2 separate regions of the Homo sapiens genome follow, and region 1 is linked to region 2. Evidence: promoter capture Hi-C in 16 types of primary human blood cells and fetal thymus (Javierre and others, 2016). All regions are on one chromosome and are shown on one strand. Each heading gives the region's core, a stretch centred on a gene start or on the middle of the fragment in contact. The rest is flanking DNA. Distances are from core to core; before and after follow the strand shown.

Region 1 (4,777 bases), core at 1,860-4,359, 1.2 Mb before region 2:
ATCATTCTGACTCATTCCCGAGTTCTTTCTCAAGACAGTTTCAAGAGCCTGGACATCAACTGGGGCTGGGGTCTCACCAGCATCTGGAGAGCCTCCTGAGTCCTCTGGCAACATCAAGGGAAGGAAGAGAAGATTCCTCCGTGGAGCCCGTCCCCGCACAATTCCCGCCCTGGGACACGGCACGGCTGCTTTGAACCAAGCCTCACCCTTGGCACTCGAGTTGGCTGTGTTCCCTATGATCCATCTACCCACCGTCTCCAGGACAAGCACTGCCCCATTCACTGAAATCAGCACATAGTAATGCTGGATAAGTGAATGAATTGGTGAATGAGTGAACAAGTGAATGTGTGCACAGCTCACTTGTTTAATTGGAGTTCCGAGTTTGGAAGTGAATGAACAGAAAAAAAATCAGTCACCAGACCCCAGATCCAAGTCATGAGATGTAGCAGCTGGATGACCTTGGATGTAGCGCATCACTTCTCTGAGCCTCACCTTCCTTATCTGCAATGAAATCAGGGAGCTTGCCCTGCCACCCCGCAGGGACACGGGAGCAGCAAGGGCTGGGTAGGCACCCAGTCAACGTAAAGCTCACAAGTTGTTGCCACCCTTCATCACGACCCCAGGACATGAAGCAGATACTGTATATCCTGGACCCTCCGGCCGAAAGCTCTTCCGGCTCCTGGGCAGGGCCAGCCCCCAGGCTCCCCAGTGGCATGCCCAGACAGTTCCAAAAGGCAGGACCGAAGCAAAGAGCCAGGATCCAAGCGGGATCCTGACCTGGGATACACACATTCCTCGGCGTGCTTTCCTGCTTTTCCATTCTTTATAAATCAGAAAATTAATTACCAGAAAAAGGATCTTCTGCACCAGAAACTCAAATGAGTTTAATGTATAATTTATACATGAAAATGTAGATGTCTATGTGTGACAAATCTCTGTATAAATATTTTTGCAGTTAAATTTTTAGGCATCTGTCTCCCTCCAAGAAGAGTCATCATGCAGGCATCATGAGTCCCCAGGGCTCAGGCCGGGTGGTGCTGGCAAGGTGGCTTGTCATTTCACCAGTTAGTGATGCAGCTGCCAGCGCAGCCCAGCCCGGAAGGCCCCAGCTTTGGCAGCAGCCACCTGCAGCCAAGTCACAGCTCTGCCCCAACCTCCCCGGCAGGGTCCTGCTGTGTCTTGTTCAAAACAAGGATTTAACACCATGTGCCACCTCTGTGCTGGGCCCAGGGGAGGAAGATAGAGTGGAGGAAGCCCTCACACACCAGTGCCTTTGAGCCCATCGGAGAGCCAGGCAAGCAGATGAGGAATGACAATGACAGGGTGGCAAATGCCAGGGCAGGCGTGGGTCCTACATGCCAGGCAGCCACAGAGGAGCAAGTACTGCCCTATGCAAGAGCATCCCTGAACACTCCAGGGCAGGGGGGCCACTCCTGATGGAGTCTGTCAGGTGGATGAAGGCAGAAGGACATTCCCAACGGTGAGAGCCACTCATGTGAAGACCAGAGACAAGAGCAAGCATGTCCAGATGATGTGGGTGTGGCCTGTGGCACCTGGTGGGGACTGGCCAGCAGTGAGCCTGGCATGGAGAAGAGCCAGATCACCAAGGGAGCTGTGTGCTCAGCCCTGAAACAGGACTTTGTTCTGGATTGAAAACTTCAAAGGGTGAAGGCACATAAGCCTTGCAAACTGTAAAGTGCATGCAGCATCCACAGAAACTACAATCCCTGGCAGGATTGAGTCCTGTGCCAAGCCAAGCCTCAGCAGCCTGCCAGTTTCTGGCCCAGGGGTCCTGGATGATTTCCTTCACCCACAGGTGTACCAGTCCATAGGATTGACTGGCACATGACTTTGCATACAAAACACCTGAAATGTAGGCTAGGCCCTTGCTTCTCATCTGCAGTTGCTACGACCATTTGGGGATGGTCATTCATTGTGTGGGACGTTCCCTGATGCCCTCTCTCCGGATGCCCAGTGGGGCTCCAGAGACAACCCACAGCATCCTCCTGCCGGAGGATCTGGAGGGAGAGGCACAGTCCACAGAAGGGGCCCTAGCCAAGAACTGGTGTGCCACGCATGCCAAGGAGAAAGGAACTGCATATCTACACCACACTCTGGCCCAGAACCAATGGCAAGGGTCACAAATATGCCGTCGTTCACCCTACCATTGCCAACCACGTCGGAGCACAATCTGAAGTCTCAATGGTGTCTTCCCAGAACTCGGGCCTTCCACAACAAGACAAAGCAAGTCCCAACTCCCCGACTCCAATAAGGGCCGCTGGACAGCCTCTGCAGCAGCCTCGAAGCCCTAAGGTCCTGGCCAAAAGGCAAAAGCACAGGCTCATGGGACCTGATGCCCACAAGACAAGGGTTTCAAGCCCCCAGCCCTCATCACCCCAGTGCCCATCTTGAAGAAGGGCACAGCCTGGCCCTGCTAATTTTTCTACCTCCTGGGGGACTGGTGGCCTACCTCTCTGTGACTCCCAGCCACGTACCTCGCTTGGTCTTTGGAGGCCTGAGACCCTCGTCCTGGGCCAGGGCCTCCCAAGTCTCCCGCTCCTTCCAGCGCCTCAGCTGCTCCTCCCGCATTTTGTAGAAGAGGATGTGCTTCTGCACATCGCTGAGCTCGGCAAGGAGCTCGGGGTCGATGTACATGTCGTGCAGGATCTGCTGCAGCATGATGCCACCTGGGATGCACGCACCAGAAGGGCAGCCAGCAGGGGAAGCAGGGCCAGGCAGAACGCCCGAGGGGCTGCTCTGCACTACGGACTGCTCAATCCGGGGCCACTCTCGGTGCCCCTTCTCTGTGCAGCATTGTCAGTTGGCCTCAGCTTGCAGCCAGCGACGAACTCATCTCCTCTACCCAGGACAGCAAAAGAGGCCAGGCAACAGGACCCAAAGGGGCAGGTGGGACTCTGCAAGGGGGAGCAACCACCAGGAGCAATCTAGTCCTTCTCCTGGGTCACCAAGCACGGCATCCCAGGAGAGCCCATGTCTTGGCATCACCTGGGGTTCTGAGACAATGGGAAGGGCCCAAGCCTCCAGCTCAGCCAGGAAATGCCCAGTCCCAGCCCTGCCTGGGCTGGTAGGTGTCGAGTGATCTGTTAGTGGAAGGTAACAATGACACCAGCTATATCAATGACACTGCCCCGGCCAGCTGGGAACTGATCTCTCCTCTGCAGATAAGAGGAGGAGAAGGAGGCAGACTTGCCTACTAAATTCCATGTCTTTTCAGCCAATTTCAAACACAGACCAGAGGAGCCTGCCAGAAGCTGCTGGGCCCCTCAGCCCTCTCAGCCCCTCTCTCTGCGGGTTCCTTCGCTGCCAACTTTCTTCCTTTCCAGAACATTTGGCATTCTGAGATGATGCGTTTAAAACTCTGCCTTGGGGGAGGAAAGATTTTTCCTCCTATCTGTGTTACAGCCAAGAAAGAAAACAAAATGGAATCAGTAGAGACAACTGGAGGGGATTTTATCTTGGAATTCCAGGACAGAAAGGAAGCAGACATCCTTTCCCTTTGGCCTATATATAATGAGATCCTGCAGCCATGCGTGGCTGACAGATAAACCCTCCAGGGGCCAGTTTTAATGGTCGTTGTTAATCTTGTTTGTTGCAGATGCCTGGAGTTGACCAAAAAGAAAGAAGATGAAACTGGCTCTTCTCTGTGCCCTGATCAGAAGCACACTGGAATGGCGGGATGTTGCCTTCTGCTGGGAGGGAAGCCACCCTCTCTTTGGTGTGTGAAGGTGGGTAGAAGCTGCCGTTGCTGAGATCTTTAGGGTGAAAGCTCACCCTAAATATGTGCTCAGAGCAAATCACAGATGCCTTCTTATTGGGACAAGGATATTGAAGCTCAGAGAAAGTAAGTGGCTTGCCTATGGCTTCCTAATGGACAAGTCACTGTATTGGGACTCCCCCGTTTTGAAATTTGACATCCACTAGCAACTATGAATCTGTTGATGGTTTGAAAACATAACCCAACCAAGGGAAAACAAACGAACCAACAGGATTTGGCACTGTGGCTTGGTTGGATTGGTGACCTTCCTGTCCCCTTCCTTGCCCATGAGGGTGGAAGGTGGATCAGGTACCCAAGAGTGATGGAAGAGGGGTGGAGAGTTGGCATTCTTCCCCCTCTGCAAGGTTAACACAACAGGAAGATGGACTAAGCAGATTCAGATGAGCTGTAAGCCCATAGGGTCAAAGCTCCTGCTCAGCTAGGCAATGTCCAGGTCACAGGAGTGGAGTCAGACGCCCCACCCCTCCCCACCCAGGTCCAGCTAGCTGGTCCCAGTGTGCCCAGACCTTCCTAGAGCCGCCACAGGACTCGCCTGTCCGCTGCAGAGCTGTGGCCCTGGACTCCCATCCACCCACCTCAGGGCTTGCACCGACTCCCCCACCGGGAGTCCTGGCTCCCCTCAGTTTCTGAGACCGGGGGTCTTCCCTAGCCTCTGCCCAGCTATTCTCTTTCTCCCCCTCGCCGTGGCTGGTGGGAGACCCCCGAGTCCAAAGAGGAGACAAGGGGAGGAAGGCCCCCAGGGTCTGGGCTCCTGCGGGCAGCTTCTTTTTGTCTTTCCCGGGCCGCCAGATACCTACGACCACAAGAGGGCACGGGGCAGGGACAACGCTGTAGGGAGCAGCAGGAATGGGCCGGCTGGAGGCGGGCGAGAACGGTGATGGTGCCACCCTGGAGGACCGTCGGGAGAGTGAGGCAGCCGGACTAGAATGACCCCCGCTAGCGCCCATTTTGTGCGATAGAGGGGATCTCGCTGGGGGCGGG
Region 2 (4,531 bases), core at 1,997-4,496:
ACTCCCGGTGCCACCGCCTTGTGCCAGGGAGCCCTCCCGCGCTGGAGTTCCCACCCTGGCTCAGGACTTCCACCTCAGCTCCTACTTTACCATCAGCCTTAGGGCTGGGCCAGGCCTGCCGTCCCTGTGTTCACCCCGTATCCAGGCTTCGCCGCACATAGACGTCCAGTCCCAACCCGCTGCCACTTACCACGGTACGATGACGGCCACTGGGTCAGGGTGGAGGGAATGGGGAGAGAATTCCAGGCAGGAAGGTCTTCAAAGAGGTCATGACAGCCATGCCCCTGCCTCCAGGCTCTGCCTGCCCAGGACACCCAATCCCTGATCTTGAAGGTCTGTGCTAATAGAAGACCAGCCCCAACACCACCTGGGTCCTGACCCACAGGAAGCTCCTGCTACAACACCTACCCCCAAACCTCTGACACAGCAATACCAATGCTTGTGAAAACTGAGCATGACACATGACCGAAAAACATTCATTTCACCGAGAATAATGCCTTTCTCTGGGAAGGGAAGCCCCAAGTCCTGGCGTGTGTGTTCCTGCCCTGGACCTGTCTTCCTCCTCCGCCTCCTCCACTTCTCTCTCTCCCTCTCTTATCTCCCACACCAGTGCTCAGGGGCACACAGGGGACAAGGTCAGAGACCACTGGAATATGCTGGCTCTTCAAAGTCTTCAAGGCCACCCCCAGCACATCCATCTCCCAACCCAGCTCTCTCTTGATAGACTCCACCTCCCAGTCCCCCGGGCAGGGCCTGCCACTGACCTGGAGTGGCAGCGGGTTGGGGCTGGGCTTCCATGTGCAGTGAAGCCTGGATACAGGGCTAATGCAGGGAGGGCAGCCTGGCTGACAGAGCAACTGCAGCTGCTCTGCTCAGCACCTTCCTCATACCAGGCATCTTCACACACCCACAAGGCAGCTCCTGCTCTCATCCCCCCTTACAGAAGAGGAAACTACATTACCTGGCACATGAAGGAAGGGATCACCCTGTGGAAGGTGGAGCCTTTGTAGCCGAAGCCCTTCTCACCAGTGCACAGGGCTCTGAAGTTCTCTGAGGGTCGAAGAGAAACACAGGTCAACAGGGCCAGGCCCCAATTCCAGGGTCATACCCGTTCCAGCCAAAATCCCTGCTACATCCCCAGCAGTGAACAGGGGGATAAAGACTCTGGCCCACCTCTTGGGTCTGCTCTGCCCAACTCGCTATGTAACTGGACAAGTCACTCCCCTTCCCTGTCCTCAGTACCTGAGCACTGTGACAAGAGTACAGGCTCATGGCTGTGCTGGCCAGCAGGGCACGGACTCAAGGGCTGTGTGCCCATCACCCTGCCTCACTGGGCACCAGGAGTGGGGAAGTCTCCGGGAAATTTACATGTGCCTTCCACTGGCTCTGAGGCTCCCAGCTACTATGAGAGAGGAGGGCAGAGCCAACGTTGAGGCCCAGAGAGGGATGGCAGGGCTGCCCCAGAGCACCCAATGGCTGAGCCACACATGGAGCTCCCATCTGTCAGGGGTCTCTGAGCCCCGACTCTTCTCATCACGCCACCCACCTTGCCCTGCCTGGCCCCCTTCCCTCTAGACCCATCTCAGAAGGCCCCAGGCCCTGTCTTACCAGCTGTCTTTGGGACGACATCTGCCTTCAGCTGTTGGGGGAGAAGAAGGACAAAAGAGGATGGTCATTGGAGAGGCAGGTGAAGGTGGGTGTCTCTCAGCACCCACCCACCCCCACAGTGGCCAAGGAGGCTAAGGAAGAAGCACGTGGACATTCCATTCCCATTATTGCCAACCCCCATGGGAGGCAGCTCTATCATTTCTGGGAGCCGTTTCCTGAACCCAAGGCTGGAGGAGGTGGCCTTGGTTTCCTAATCTGTCAGAAGAGATGACAATGCTATCTTGGCCTACTTCTGTGGACACAGCTGGCAGTGCTCCCACAGCTGGGCCCAAAGCATCAGAAATTCAGGGACAAGAGAGTGTGTCTAAGGTAGAAGCCAGACCAGCTCCTCCATTCGGGGTTGGGAAACTGAGGCCCAGGGAGAGGCATGAGGGTGTGGGGAGGGAAGGCTGAAGCCCCATCCCAGCCAGCCTCTACCCTCGAAGCTGCAAGACCCACCCTGGAACCAAATGGAAGCAGGAAGGGTGTCCCTATTTTCCAGAAGAAACTGAGAATGAAGAAGAAATACTAAGGGCTCCCTGGGATACGGGCCAGTCAACACAAACAGACCCCTGCTGTCAATGTGTGGCCGACCTGAAGGCTCCACTAGGGCTTTCCCTCTAAAGCTACCCTGGTGACTGTTTCTTACTTTGCTTTAGAAAAGACCCAAAAACAGAGTTAGGGGAGGTGCTCAGTGTGGCCCCCAAGGACAGTGGCAGGGGTTGAGGCGCCGGGCACACTGTCTCTGAGTGTGTCCCGACTCGCAGGAGGGGCATTCTGGGGTCCACCAGGTGGCCGGGGCCTGAGGCCTACTGGGCCCGCACTACTGCTGGAAACCACCTCTCGCTCCATTTCCCAGCACCCCCAGTGTGAGCCCGACCGCAGGGGCGGGGCCGGAGCCAGGAAGCGCTCCGTGTTGTGCAAGGGCCGCCACGTGAGCACCCGCTGGGCCACGACGCTCACCCCAAGACCCCCGACACCCACCTCGGAGCTCCGGATCTAGGCTCAGCCCCAGAAGGCTCCTGGAGCCCCTCCCTCGTGCCCGGGCCGGCCCAGAGGTGCTGAGCCCTCCCTCTCTGCGATCTGACCTTGAGCTTTCTCCTCCACACGTGCCCTCCCTCCCGTCTCCCCCGCTCCAGTGCTCCGAGGGAGGCCGGAAGAAATCATTCTGACGCCCATTCTCAGAAATGGGGAAACTGAGGCCCAGAGCTCGGCATGGGGAGGCCCAAGGTCACCCAGCGCGCCCGGCACCGCGCCGCCCGGGGCCCAGGGCTCTCCCCGGGCCCGTGTCCCGCGCCCAGGCCGGCCCTGCGAGCGGTCTCACCTCCAGCACCACGCGGCCGAGCGGCTTCCCGTTGGCGTCCACGTCCAGGTACACGAGCGGGTTCCCGGAGGAGGAGGAAGAGGACGGGTCGCCGGAGCCCTTGCTGCAGGCGCGGGCCGCGGGGAGGCGCAGCGGCACGGAGCGCGGGACGGAGAGCAGGCCGAGCCAGCGGGAGCCGCAGCGCAGCGCCAGCATCGCGGGCGCGGGTCGGGCGGGACACGGGCGGGGAGAACACAGAACTCAAACTGACGTCGCGCGCGCCCAGAAGGCCGAGTCCCGCGCAGCCGCGCGCCGCAGCCTTTATTGGCTTGCCCAGGTTCCCGGCCCTGCCCCCGTCCCGCCTCCTCCAGGCCTGTCCGTGGACTACCCCTGCCGGCCGCAGCGGGCAGCGCAGCCAGCCGGTGGGGCCGCGGAGCGTGAAGTGCTTTGAAACACTCCCGCCTCCAGGCCCAGAGACCCGGAGAACAGACACCTGGCAAAAGGTTGCTGGTTCCATGTTTATTAAGGTACCAGCAGATTTTTTTAAAAAAAGAAAAACTGCTAAAACGTAATTAATTCCAAAATATGAGCATCTATACGTTGCAATTTGAATATAATAGCAAAAGTCTACCTTTGAGCCCTTTGCAGGTAAGGCTCAGGCCAAATAAGCTTCCCTGCTGCCCTAGGTCCTGCAGTCTGAGAGGGTTAGAGAAAGGTGAGATGAGAGGCGGGATTAGTGAGCTAGAGGCGCAAGAGGGAGGAGATAAGCTGAGACACCTCCCATGATGCCCCCTAGCCTGCTTGTCCCGGCCTGGGCCTGTCTCTAGTTGTTTCTGGGGACCAGACCTGCTTCTAGCAAGACTGAAAACGCAGCCTGGGCTCATCATGCTCCTTTCAGGCCCCCAGCCCTCCCCAGGACTGGGTCTGATCCCTCCTCCTAGGACCCACACTGACAGCCCCGGGGCAGACTGCCAGCTGCCCCCTCCCATCAGCATGCACCCTGGGAGGGGACTCAGTGGGGAGACCCACAGCAGGAGCATTTAAACCCCACGTGCTGAAAGTGGGCTTCCCAGCAGCCAGAGCCACCCTCACTGCAAGGTGGTGGGAGGTCTGCAATAAATGGATGCCACGCAGGGACCTGAGAGAGCATCTGGCCCAACACTTGTACTGTCCCCAGGGGAAGCTGAGGCCTGGACACAGGAAGGCACTGGCTAGGGCTAGGGAGCCCTGGAGTATTGCTACCAGCTTGCACCAGTGCTCCAGGCCTCTCTGGGCCTCAGTTTCCCATCTGGAGGGTAAGGGTGCGATCATGCTCCTCATCCTGCTTTTTTCTCGTGTCTGTTCTTAGGATAAAATGAACGAGAGAGACATGGATTTGTCAACTAAGTACTGTGCCTGTGGGCATCTGTGATGGACAGAGTCTGGACTGTCTTTCTCACAGTTTGGGATTCAGAGAGCTGCGGTCTCAGTTAGAGGCCTGAGGGGTCAGAGAAAGGGGTGGGGCTGAGCCTTGGAGGCAGGTGGGCAGGAGTAGGGACCAGCTCTGGACTGACCTGCCCCAGATCCTGAATGGGCTCATGG

What was found. Contacts are between HindIII fragments. The CHiCAGO score rates a contact against its expected background, and 5 or more counts as called.
Region 1: a contact is called between the fragment with the promoter of SH2D4B here and the fragment with the promoter of PPIF in region 2, in 6 of 17 cell types (non-activated CD4 T cells, activated CD4 T cells, total CD4 T cells and 3 more). The highest score is 11.6, in non-activated CD4 T cells.

What each region holds. Positions count from the first base shown.
Region 1 is chr10:80,536,234-80,541,010 of GRCh38, reverse strand. It overlaps SH2D4B (SH2 domain containing 4B), which reads right to left and starts at 3,109. Exons shown (of 8, transcript NM_001388272.1): 1 at 2,496-3,109. The coding sequence starts at 2,679. RefSeq lists enhancers at 49-228, 1,266-1,405, 4,712-4,777. The HindIII fragment of the contact is 17,935 bases long and covers 1-4,777 here.
Region 2 is chr10:79,346,184-79,350,714 of GRCh38, reverse strand. It overlaps PPIF (peptidylprolyl isomerase F), which reads right to left and starts at 3,246. Exons shown (of 6, transcript NM_005729.4): 1 at 2,972-3,246; 2 at 1,609-1,639; 3 at 962-1,050. The coding sequence starts at 3,166. RefSeq lists an enhancer at 998-1,498, cis regulatory regions at 2,265-2,765, 2,448-2,948, 2,477-2,977, 2,980-3,502, 2,970-3,502 and 5 more and silencers at 2,813-3,042, 3,063-3,472. The HindIII fragment of the contact is 8,142 bases long and covers 1-3,621 here.